Regions from separate parts of the Homo sapiens genome. Here regions 2 and 3 are each linked to region 1. Evidence: promoter capture Hi-C in 16 types of primary human blood cells and fetal thymus (Javierre and others, 2016). All regions are on one chromosome and are shown on one strand. The core of a region is centred on a gene start or on the middle of the fragment in contact, and the rest is flanking DNA. Distances in the headings are between cores, read along the strand shown.

Evidence for each region. The method cuts DNA at HindIII sites, captures the fragments that hold promoters and counts their contacts. A CHiCAGO score of 5 or more calls a contact.
Region 2: a contact is called between a fragment that was not itself captured here and the fragment with the promoter of CCK in region 1, in 2 of 17 cell types (naive CD8 T cells and naive CD4 T cells). The highest score is 5.5, in naive CD8 T cells.
Region 3: a fragment that was not itself captured here is called in contact with the fragment with the promoter of CCK in region 1 in 15 of 17 cell types (naive CD8 T cells, naive CD4 T cells, fetal thymus and 12 more); the score reaches 18.2 in naive CD8 T cells.

What each region holds. Positions count from the first base shown.
Region 1 is chr3:42,264,618-42,267,779 of GRCh38, forward strand. CCK (cholecystokinin) reads right to left here and starts at 1,568. Exons shown (of 5, transcript NM_000729.6): 1 at 1,067-1,568; 2 at 652-820; 3 at 80-290. The HindIII fragment of the contact is 3,723 bases long and covers 378-3,162 here.
Region 2 is chr3:42,395,696-42,398,764 of GRCh38, forward strand. It overlaps LYZL4 (lysozyme like 4), which reads right to left. Exons shown (of 5, transcript NM_144634.4): 5 at 1,388-1,639. The coding sequence ends at 1,570. Among named protein-coding and RNA genes, the nearest start is that of LYZL4, 13 kb to the right of the region's middle. The HindIII fragment of the contact is 1,237 bases long and covers 739-1,975 here.
Region 3 is chr3:42,439,837-42,443,367 of GRCh38, forward strand. No RefSeq gene overlaps it. Among named protein-coding and RNA genes, the nearest start is that of LYZL4, 31 kb to the left of the region's middle. The HindIII fragment of the contact is 4,095 bases long and covers 1-3,531 here.

The DNA.
Region 1 (3,162 bases), core at 318-2,817:
AATGGGCACAAAGCTGAAGACAGCATCCTTCAAAGACACACGACACTTGGATCCCCCGCTGACGAACCGAGGGACCTACCTTTTGGATTAGGACGCAGCTGGCTTGGCGTTTCCAACCGGAGCAGCCCGGCAGCTGAGCCAAGTTCAGGGAGGACCAGCGGGCGGCTGTCTCTTAAATAGCCCCACCCGGCGGCGTCGGCCAGTCATGTATTTACCCAACGCTGACGCAGACTGGCAGTAACACGTGCTCAGAGGGCGGCCACTGGGGCGACAACCGGTTGAAGTGGCTCCTGGGAGAGAGGGGGAGGTGGTCTAGTGGGGTGGAGTTAATCCCTCCCACGCGCGGTGCCGGGTGTCCGCCCCCTCTGGGTCCGAGAAGCTTCCGCCCAACCCTTTCCAGGTGCCGCTCCCCTGCGCATTCCAGAGCAGTACTCTCCAAGGTGGGAAACCTAGGAGTTTGGAGTCTCCTCCGGGATGGAGAAGCTGCCGCTAGCTTAGTTCGCTTTGGGGACCGGAGGGGCTAGAAAGGAAACTGGGGGCGGGGGTGGGGGGTGGACACTGGGCAGGACTGAGCATCAGCAAGGCGTGATTCTGAAAGGGAGGGGGCGTCGGCCCCCTACCCCGGAGCGTCCGAGGCGCTGGTCTTCATACCTGTGTCGGCTCTTTCGAAGGAGAGAGGAGGAGTCGGGGTCTTCACTTTCTTCTCAGCCGCATTAAAAGCCCTCGCAGTTCTCCAGGTTTCCGAGGGCCAGTGTTCTGGGTCAGTGAAAGGGCTCTGGCCACAGCTGGCTCTTGGTGTCCTGGGCCTCTCTTGACGCAGCTGTAAAATGCGGATGACACCATCTGGTTTTGCTCAGAGGAATCCGGTTTGGGAAAGGGATGTGTTTTCTTCCCGGGCCAAGTTACCACCACCCGCGGCGCCCACTGTTCCCCGTTGTCGACAAGCGGCGCCAGCGAGGGTCCTGGGGAACTTGACCACCGCACCCCCGCAAGCTCGGGTAGACCACGGCATCCGCCCCTCGCACCTTTCCTGAGGGCCCACACACTCACACCCCCAGGACAGTACCTTCCAGAACTCAGCTGCGCAGCCTGGAGGTGAGGACCTCACCCCTAGTCAGTCACCCGTCCGGTGGAGGGAAGGGAGGCACCGAGGCTGCCGTGCGCCTTTCCCTGCACGCGGTTACTCTCCCGGCTCCGGAGCGGGCCGACCTGGAGCCCCTCAGTGCGCTCTGGTCGTCTACACCCTGAAACCCTTTGAGTTCGAGTCCGCTTGCTGGTGCTTGAGTTCGCCGCGTCCCTGCAAAGGCACTGCCAACCCCATTTCACAGACCGCAAACCGAGGCGCGAGGAAGAGCAGCGCCTTGCCAAGGCTCCACAACACGCCCCTCGCCCTCTCCGTGCACCGAGGCCGCCCAGCCTGGGACCTGGAGATCACCAGGCCTTGAACCTTGGGACCTCAACTCCTCTCCCTTTCTTTCCCCCACCCGTCTTAGATGCAAGGAGAAAGATTTAGAAGCGCTTATTTTAAAATCGGAATCCGTATTCCGCTCTGGAATTCCCTCTGGAATGGAGGGACTGTGGCAACGCCAGTGTGAGGGTGGAGTGGGCGAGGCGGGGTGGGGGGGTTGGGGGGGCGGCCCAGAGACGCCTCCGGTTGCTGCTCCACTTTCTAATCCTGAGAGGCAGCTGCGTTTCTGCAACCTATGGGCAACATGTTTGAAAGAGCTGAAGCTGATTAAATGCTTTCCAGTGGTTTCGCCACGAGCCTGCTAAGGTTTGTGTAGTTCAGTTGCGAAAAAGAGTCTTATTTGTGATTGTGGCAAGACATGTCTGGAAACATAAACTTGTTATCGAAATACCCCCAGAGCTTCTAATTCAGTAGGTCTGAGGAAGGGCCCAAGAATCCGAATTCCTTCCTTCCTTCCTTCCTTCCTTCCTTCCTTCCTTCCTTCCTTTCTTCCTCCTTCCCTCCTTCCCTCCCTCCCTCCCTTCCTTCCTCCCTCCCTCCCTCCCTTCCTCCCTCCTTCCCTCCCTCTCTCCCCTTCCCTCTTTCCCTCTCTCCCTTCCTTCCTTCCTTCCTTCCTTCCTTCCTTCCTTCCTTCCCTCCCTCCTTCCTTCCTTCCTTCCCCCCTCCCTCCCTCCGTCTCTCCTTCTCCCTCTTTCCCTCTTTCTCTCTCTCTTTCTTTCTTTCTTCTTTATTTCTTTCTTTCTTTCTTCATTTCCTTCCTTCCTTCCTTCCTTCCTTCCTTCCTTCCTTCCTTCCTTCCTTCCTTTCCTTGCCTTTCCTTCTTTGAGACAGAGTCTCACTCTGTCGCCCAGGCTGGAGTACAGTGGCATGATCTCGGCTCACTGCAACCTCTGCCTCCCAGGTTCAAACGATTCTCCTGCCTCAGCCTCCCCAGCGGCTGGGATTACAGGCATGTGCAGCCATGCCTGGCTAATTTTTATATTTTTAGTAGAGACAAGGGTTCACCATGTTGGCTAGGTTGGTCTCGAACTTCTGACCTCAGGTGATCTACCCACCTTGGCCTCCCAAAATGCTGGGACTACAGGCGTGAGCCACCACGCCCCACCAAGAATCTACATTTCTAACAAGTTCCCAGGCCATACTGAAAATGCTAGTCCGCCAAGCACACTTTGAGATCATTTCTATAGAAATTCCCTACCTTATACCAGTTACTCAACTCCTGGCCTTGATCCATTTAATTCATGTTTATTCAACACTTACTTTGTGCCAGGCCCCAGGGATTCAGTATGAACAAGAGCTGACAATACAATAGGGGAGCTGAAGCAAACAAGTGGACAAACACTTCTCAACAATTCTGATATTTGGGGACTATGGAGTGGAGATGGTAGGAGGTAATCTTGGAGAAATGTTTTGGTGAGGGGAGCTAGGTGGTAATATGGAAGATGCCCAAAAGGCAGAGGGACTGGAAGGGGAGGGCTGGATAGGAGGCCCTCGGGGATGGGCAAGCAGGAACAATCAAGGTAGATTTGTTTTAGAATAATAAGCCATTATGAAACCCATTAATTATTAGGAAACATAATAAACATTATGCAAGTCATAAGTGTTCATCAGAGAACATTCAGAAAACAAAAGTAGAGAAAAGAAGAAAAATTCCAGCCTCCCAGGGAACAACCTGTTGCTGCTCAGGAAACTGG
Region 2 (3,069 bases), core at 107-2,606, 130 kb after region 1:
ATGTGAGAAATAAAAAGGGGCAGCCCCAAACAGGGACTTCAGCACTCTTTGTAATGGTTTTTAAAATGGCAATACCTAAAGATCTAACATGGCCAAGATCGGTGGCTCACACCCCTAACATTTTGGGAGGCGAGGCGGGTGGATCACTTGAGGTCAGGAGTTCAAGACCATCCTGGCCAACATGGTGAAACCCCGTCTTTACTAAAAATACAAAAATTAGCCAGGTGTTGTTGGTGCGTGCCTGCAATCCCAGCTACTCGGGAGGCTGAGTCAGAAGAATCGCTTGAACCTGCGGGGTGGAGGCTGCAGTGAGCCGAGATCGCGCCATTGCACTCCAGCAATGGGTGACAGAGCAAGACTCTGTCTCAAAAAAAAGAAAAGAAAAAAAGAAAACATCTAAGAGTAGAGCAAAAGTTAAATAAAATATGGTGTGTCATATACTGAAATACTCACTGGCACTAAAATTTCACTTTGAAGAACTACAACACCATGGTGAAGCACATGTGACTGACAGGCTTTCTCCATACTACTCTAGTTCTTTTCTTCCTGTATGAGGACTGAAAGGTGAAGAACTATGTTCTCCAACCCCCATGATGGTGTGGGTCCCATAGGTGACCTGACCTGCTGAGCAGATACCTGTGCTCTTGCTGCTGCTGCTACCAGATCTCAGGCAGGTGTGTCCAGGAAGCCCAGGCTGACAGCTGTACTCCATCCCATGAAATAAGCTGTAAGCCACTAAGCTTTTAAAATAAGCCCCTTGCTACTTAAAGTTGAAACAGATGTAGGGGAAAAGTGTCTTACCTTATTTGTTTGTTTTCTTTCTAAAAAGTCAGATGCAAAACTCTCTAACTACAACATTATCATGGCATTTTTGAAAAAGAATAAAAAACCTATACAGAAAAAAGATCAGCAGGAAATGCAACCAAAACATAACAGCAATTGTCTTTGAGTACTGAGATTATAGGAAAATTTTTCTCCTTTTTAACATTTCTGTATTTTCCCAAATTTCTCTAATGCAAATATGTGTTATTTATAACTTTCAGAGACTTTTTATAAGAAATGAGCAACTGTCATTTGATTCCCTTCATAGACGTGCAAAGAGGATTCTGTGGTCTCTCCCTTCCCCGTGTGTCCCAGTGTGGACACGCCTTGGCTGAAGGCCCTGCTTGTGCCAGCCTCTCTTCCTCTCTTCTTTCCTCTTTGGTTCCACTGTACCTGTTCTTCCTTTTCCTGTTTAGTATTGACATTCATGGACACATCTTGTTTTTCAGATAATTTCCTTCCTTCAATTCCTCCATATGAGATTAAATAATAATAAATCACAATAATAGTAAATAATGGTGATTACAGAAATAATCATAATCAAAGCAGAGACCTTTGGCCCAAGTTGAGTAACTAGTTTGGTTTATTCTGCATCCTGCATCCCCGGATGAAGCAAACTTTTGTCTTTTTCCATCTGGAACTCTTAAAGTGGTGAGATCATCAAAAGGATTGACTGAAGCAGCAAGCAGAAAAGCACCTTCATTCACAAGATGCAACTGGTGAGTGCTGCAGGGGCCATGCAGGTGGCTACAGCTTGCAACCATCCAGCCACCGTGCCAGGGTATCGGAGTACTGGCAGTACCGGGACCAGGTGGGCCTGTGGAGAGAAGTGAACAGGAAGGGCTCCTCAAAGTCAGAACTCAGGGTCTCCAGGGCTTCACAGCCCCATTCAGGCCATTTACACCTGCCTGCCCCTTGGAGCCTTTGAGTTTTCCACCTCTGCCGTGGGCACGATTCTGAAGGCTTTTGTGCATCTCCAGTGCTGTCTTCATCACATCCTGGCTTGAATACTGGTGCTTCCTCCATCCTAGTGCCCACATCAGCCCCCAACTCATTCCATAAACCCCACATGGTGAGATGAGGAGGCTGAACTGTGAACTGTGAAATTCTCCCCCAACCCTGCAACGGAGGTATCATTTGCTTCTCTGAAGTAAGCTTCAGAGAAGTTCCGTGACTTTCCCAGAGTCACATGATGAGTCTTTGGCAGACCCTAGGCCTGCAAATAGAACCTTTGTCCCCTGGGCCAGGGCCCCTTTCACCTTTCCACGTACCTGCTCCGCTCTTCACCTTCCAAAATTCCTTCCAACTCTTTAGCCCCACCTAAGTCAGCTGCACTGAGTTTCTCTAACCTTTTCTCCTGGTGCCTGTCAAAGTGATTCCCTTGTTCTGGGTCCCCATGCCAGCACCCAGACTTCAGGTTCTCCAGTCCCTACCTGCAGGGTGGGGAGTCACTCAGGCCAGCTGTACGCCATTAGAAATCCTGTTTCGTCATCCCACCCCTCAGCGGGCCGGTTTCCACGGGTCTTCCAGGATAGGAGGTCCCACAGTGCAAGACAGGGCTGTGGACCTCTGGCCCCTCATAGTTACAGAGTGGCAGGGAAACATACACACAGGTATTTTCAGAAATCCCAAGGCTCTCCATAGCTCAGGGCAGACATTGCAGAAGGGACTCCTTGGGGCCATGTGTGATCTTAGTCTTCTCCCTTCCTGTCTGCCCCAACCCTGCAGAGCTGACCAACCGAGCTTTGGAGAACACGTGGCTGCCTGTTAGCTTAATTAGCTTCCTTCACTGGGAACCTCAGCAATAAGAAGGCCTTGATCTGCCTGGCTTAGCATAGCTCCACTCAGTGCCATACACTAAATATGGTTTTAGTTCATTAGGGCTTACTCTAAAGAATCAGCCAAGCTTCCACATTAACTGGAAACTCGGACCATATATGAAAGGTATTTCAAACACTCCAAAGTCAGTTAACATTAATAAGGGGACTTTCACTTTAAAATTACAATCTATTAAATTAGTGATGAAAATGGGTTACTGAATAAATAGTATTGAAATCAATGACTAGCCATTTAAAAAATATAAACCTGAGTCCCTACACCTCACTTTTTATACCAAAATAAATTCCAAGAAGGCCAAAATTTTAAGCATTAAAAACATAAAATCATATTCTATTTTTAACTTATTTAACAAAAATTTAATATAGGGCTTAATTTGTGTGTGTGCCAGCACTGTTGTAATACATGGCT
Region 3 (3,531 bases), core at 640-3,139, 180 kb after region 1:
GATGGGCTGGGATTCTCTGCTGTGATGCATTTGGCATTGGCTGACAGAGCAGACACAATGGCAGTGCCCTCTGGGAAGCAACATAAAGAGCTGATTGTTGTATTTTCTGACAGATAATAGGGGAGAAAGATGTGAATAAACCAGGTGCACTTGTCCTTTAACAGACTGATAATGGTGACAGAAAACACCCTAGTGGCCATGGAAACAAAGAGTTGGGACAGGAATAAGAATGGAACTGTGGGGAGATTTCAACAAGTCCCTCTGTGTGTTGCTGGAAGATACTTGGAAATGTTTGCTGCATTTCCTCATGCATCCCAGTTCTTCCTCAGCCCCAACAGCAAAGACTTCCAGCAGGGAAGGGTTGATACAGCAGGGATGGGAGAAGAAGGGAGTCAAAATCTTGGCTTGGCTTTTGAATTTGGAAAGTCAACTTTGAGTTGTAAGAACCCAAAGGAAATTTACAGGTAACCTAGAAACTTCCAAGGCCTGAGATATAGATCAGGGCTAGTTTTGCCTGCTTCAGAAGAGAGGAAGTTTCTCAGGGCAGAGGTGGGGAGAGAATGATAAGGGGCAGCAAGAGAGAAAGAAAATAGGAGCTTCCCTGAAAATGGCCCTGCTCCCCAACCCACCCACCTGTCACCAATAGGGGATGAAGAATACAGCAGAGACCTCAGATGGGTGCAGAGTGGGGTGGGGGATCCTAGGGACCATGCCTAGAGCTGCCAGATAAAATGCAATGTTTGGGGCTGGGCAGGGTGGCTCACGCATGTATTCCCAGCAGTTTGGGAGGCTGAGGCAGATGGATCACTTGAGGTCAGGAGCTTGAGACCAGCCTGGCCAACATGGTGAAACGCCCCCTCTACTGAAAATACAAAAATTAGCTGGGCATTGTGGTGCATGCTTGTAATCCCAGCTACTTGGGAAGCTGAGGCAGGAGGATCGCTTGAACCTGGGAGGTGGAGGTTTCAGTTTGCCAAGATTTTGCCACTGCACTCCAGCCTGGGTGACAGAGCAAAACTCCGTCTCAAAAAAAAAAAAAAAAAAGCAATATTTGGGACATACTTACAATAAAAAACTACTTATCGTTTACCTGAAATTCAAATTTAACCGGGTGATATGTATTTTTATTTGCTAAATCTGGCATCCCGATTTGCACCTCCTTTCTAGGGGAAACCTAAAGAGCCTCCTCACCCCAGCAGGTGAGGAAGACAAAGACAAAGAAGCGATGCTGGGGAGAGAAACCATGGGGTGCCTGGCGGAGCCTGCAACAGGAGAAGGAAAAGCTCTGCCTCCGAGGAAGCATGAGACTCCACTTCTGGGTGAGGGCTTAGAAGTCGAAATGAGGAGGACGCAGTTGCCACCTGCAGGGAGCATTCCATGGGCGTCAGAGGGGTGACAGTTTCATCAGACAACACCAGTAGGGATTGATAGGGTCATGCAGACAAGATTGCACATGCATGCACACACACCATGTGCCTCCACACAAAAACAATAAAAGTCCATACTTACTGAGCACTTGCTATCCCAGGAACTGTTCACAGAACTTGATGCTTACTATTTTCTAAGTGCATTATATTCTCTTCTGTCAGCTCTTCTAATCCTTGCAACAGTCCTATGAGGTAGGCATTTTTATCTCCATTTTCCTCATGAGGGAACAGAAGCAAAGAAGTCATGTGAGTATCCCAGACTCACCTAGTTGGCAGGTGGCAAAACTGGAGTGTGAGCCCAGCAGTTTGGTTCCTGAATCTGTACCCTTAAACTTCCGTACTCTGCAATCTGTATCACTTGGGGTTGAGTGTGACCGCAAGTAACCAAAAACCCCAATTCACAGTGGCCAAAACACAGAATTTTATTTTATTTTGTTAAACAACAACAACAAAATTCCAGAGGCAGGCAGGTCAGGACTGTTGTAACAGTTCCATAAAGCTCCTTCTGGAATTCCCTCTGCGTTCACTGCAGGTGACTTTCAAACTTGTGGTCCAAGAGGGCTGCTGGAGCCTCAGCCATTATATATGTGTTCCAAGCAGCAAGAGGGAGGAAGGAGGAAAAAGAGCAGTTCTTTCCCTCTTCTGGAAAGTCACATATGCCATCTCTTAGTGACACAGTCTCATCTTGCTGCAAGAGAAGCTGGAGTAAGTAATCACTTGGCTGATTGGCAGTGTGCCCAGCTACAATCAGGAATAAAAGAAGAAAATGACTGTTGAGAATTGATAACATTCCCTGTTACACAGCCTCTGGAATTTTAAAGTCCCTGGAATTATAGGTCTGTAGTAGATTTTACCGCTGCCCAAATCTCTCCCCCAGCTCACCATGGATGGAGCCAACAAAGTAGGGTGTGCGGCATCTTAAGGTATCTGCAAAGGGCTGAGGAGGCTGGAGGCTGAGATACAGAGAAGTTCCCAGGAATCTGCCCCCAATTCCTCTACCTCCCATTTTGAAGCAAATCACTGTTCTGATTTCTATCACGATAGGTTAGTTTGCATTTTCTAGAGCTTCATATAAATGGGATCATAGAGCATAACCTCTTTTGTGTCTGGGTTCTCTCATTCAGCATTATGTCTGTGAGATTCATTCCTGTGGGGTGCATCAGTCATTCATTTCTTCTTATTGCTGTGAGGTGTATTCCATTACAGGAATACACCATAATTTGTCCATTCATCTGTTGAGGGACACCTAGTGTGTTTCCAGTCTTGAACTATTATGAATAAAATCTCACGAATATTTTTGCACAATACTGGATGCGGATATTGCTTTTCACTGCTGTTGATTAAATGCCTAGGAGGATAATTATAGGACAGATCGACCTAAGTTATAAGGCAAGTAAACACTTAACTTTTTACGTAACTGTCAAGTAATTTTCTGAAGTGGTTGTAGCATTTCACACTCCTCCAGGCGGTCTATGAGTGTTCCAGTTGCTCCACATGGTGAGTTCTCAGAGGAGTCCCAAGGGCTGGCACCATATCCTTACCTGGGCCTTGAGGGCCTGGTCCTGGCTAGGTCAGCACATGGAGCTCCAGCCTGGGAGGCTGTGGCAGCGTCTCCTGCAGGGCAACCACAGCAATGCATGGGCTGAGGGATTCCAGAGCAGGAGCCCGCTGCAGCAGCCTTGTGATGTGAGGGCAGTGCAAGGCAAAGACATTGCCAGTACCATGGAGATGGTGAGCCCACCACAGCGAGTGCTCAGGAGTCTCCTGCCATCATTGGCATCAGCAGTAGTCTGCCAGGAATGCAGGAACACATCAAGATGTGTGAAGGGGGATTAGGCGATGCATTTTGGACACTCAGGATGGGCACCAAAGGGAAGTAATGGCCCCAGAAGAGTGCCAGCAATGCCTCCCTCGCAAATCCCCACATATTCTAAGCAGCCAGGCTGCAGGACTGCTTCTCATTTGGAGTGGAAGTAATTTGCAAGAGTGGTGGGAGCTGTTTCTCCCAGCTGCAGAAAATATTAACGTCTTGTGGAAGACTCTTTCAGCAGAATCTTAGGTCCATGGGTCACGAAGTCTGGAAAGTTGACAAGGCTTTGGGGTG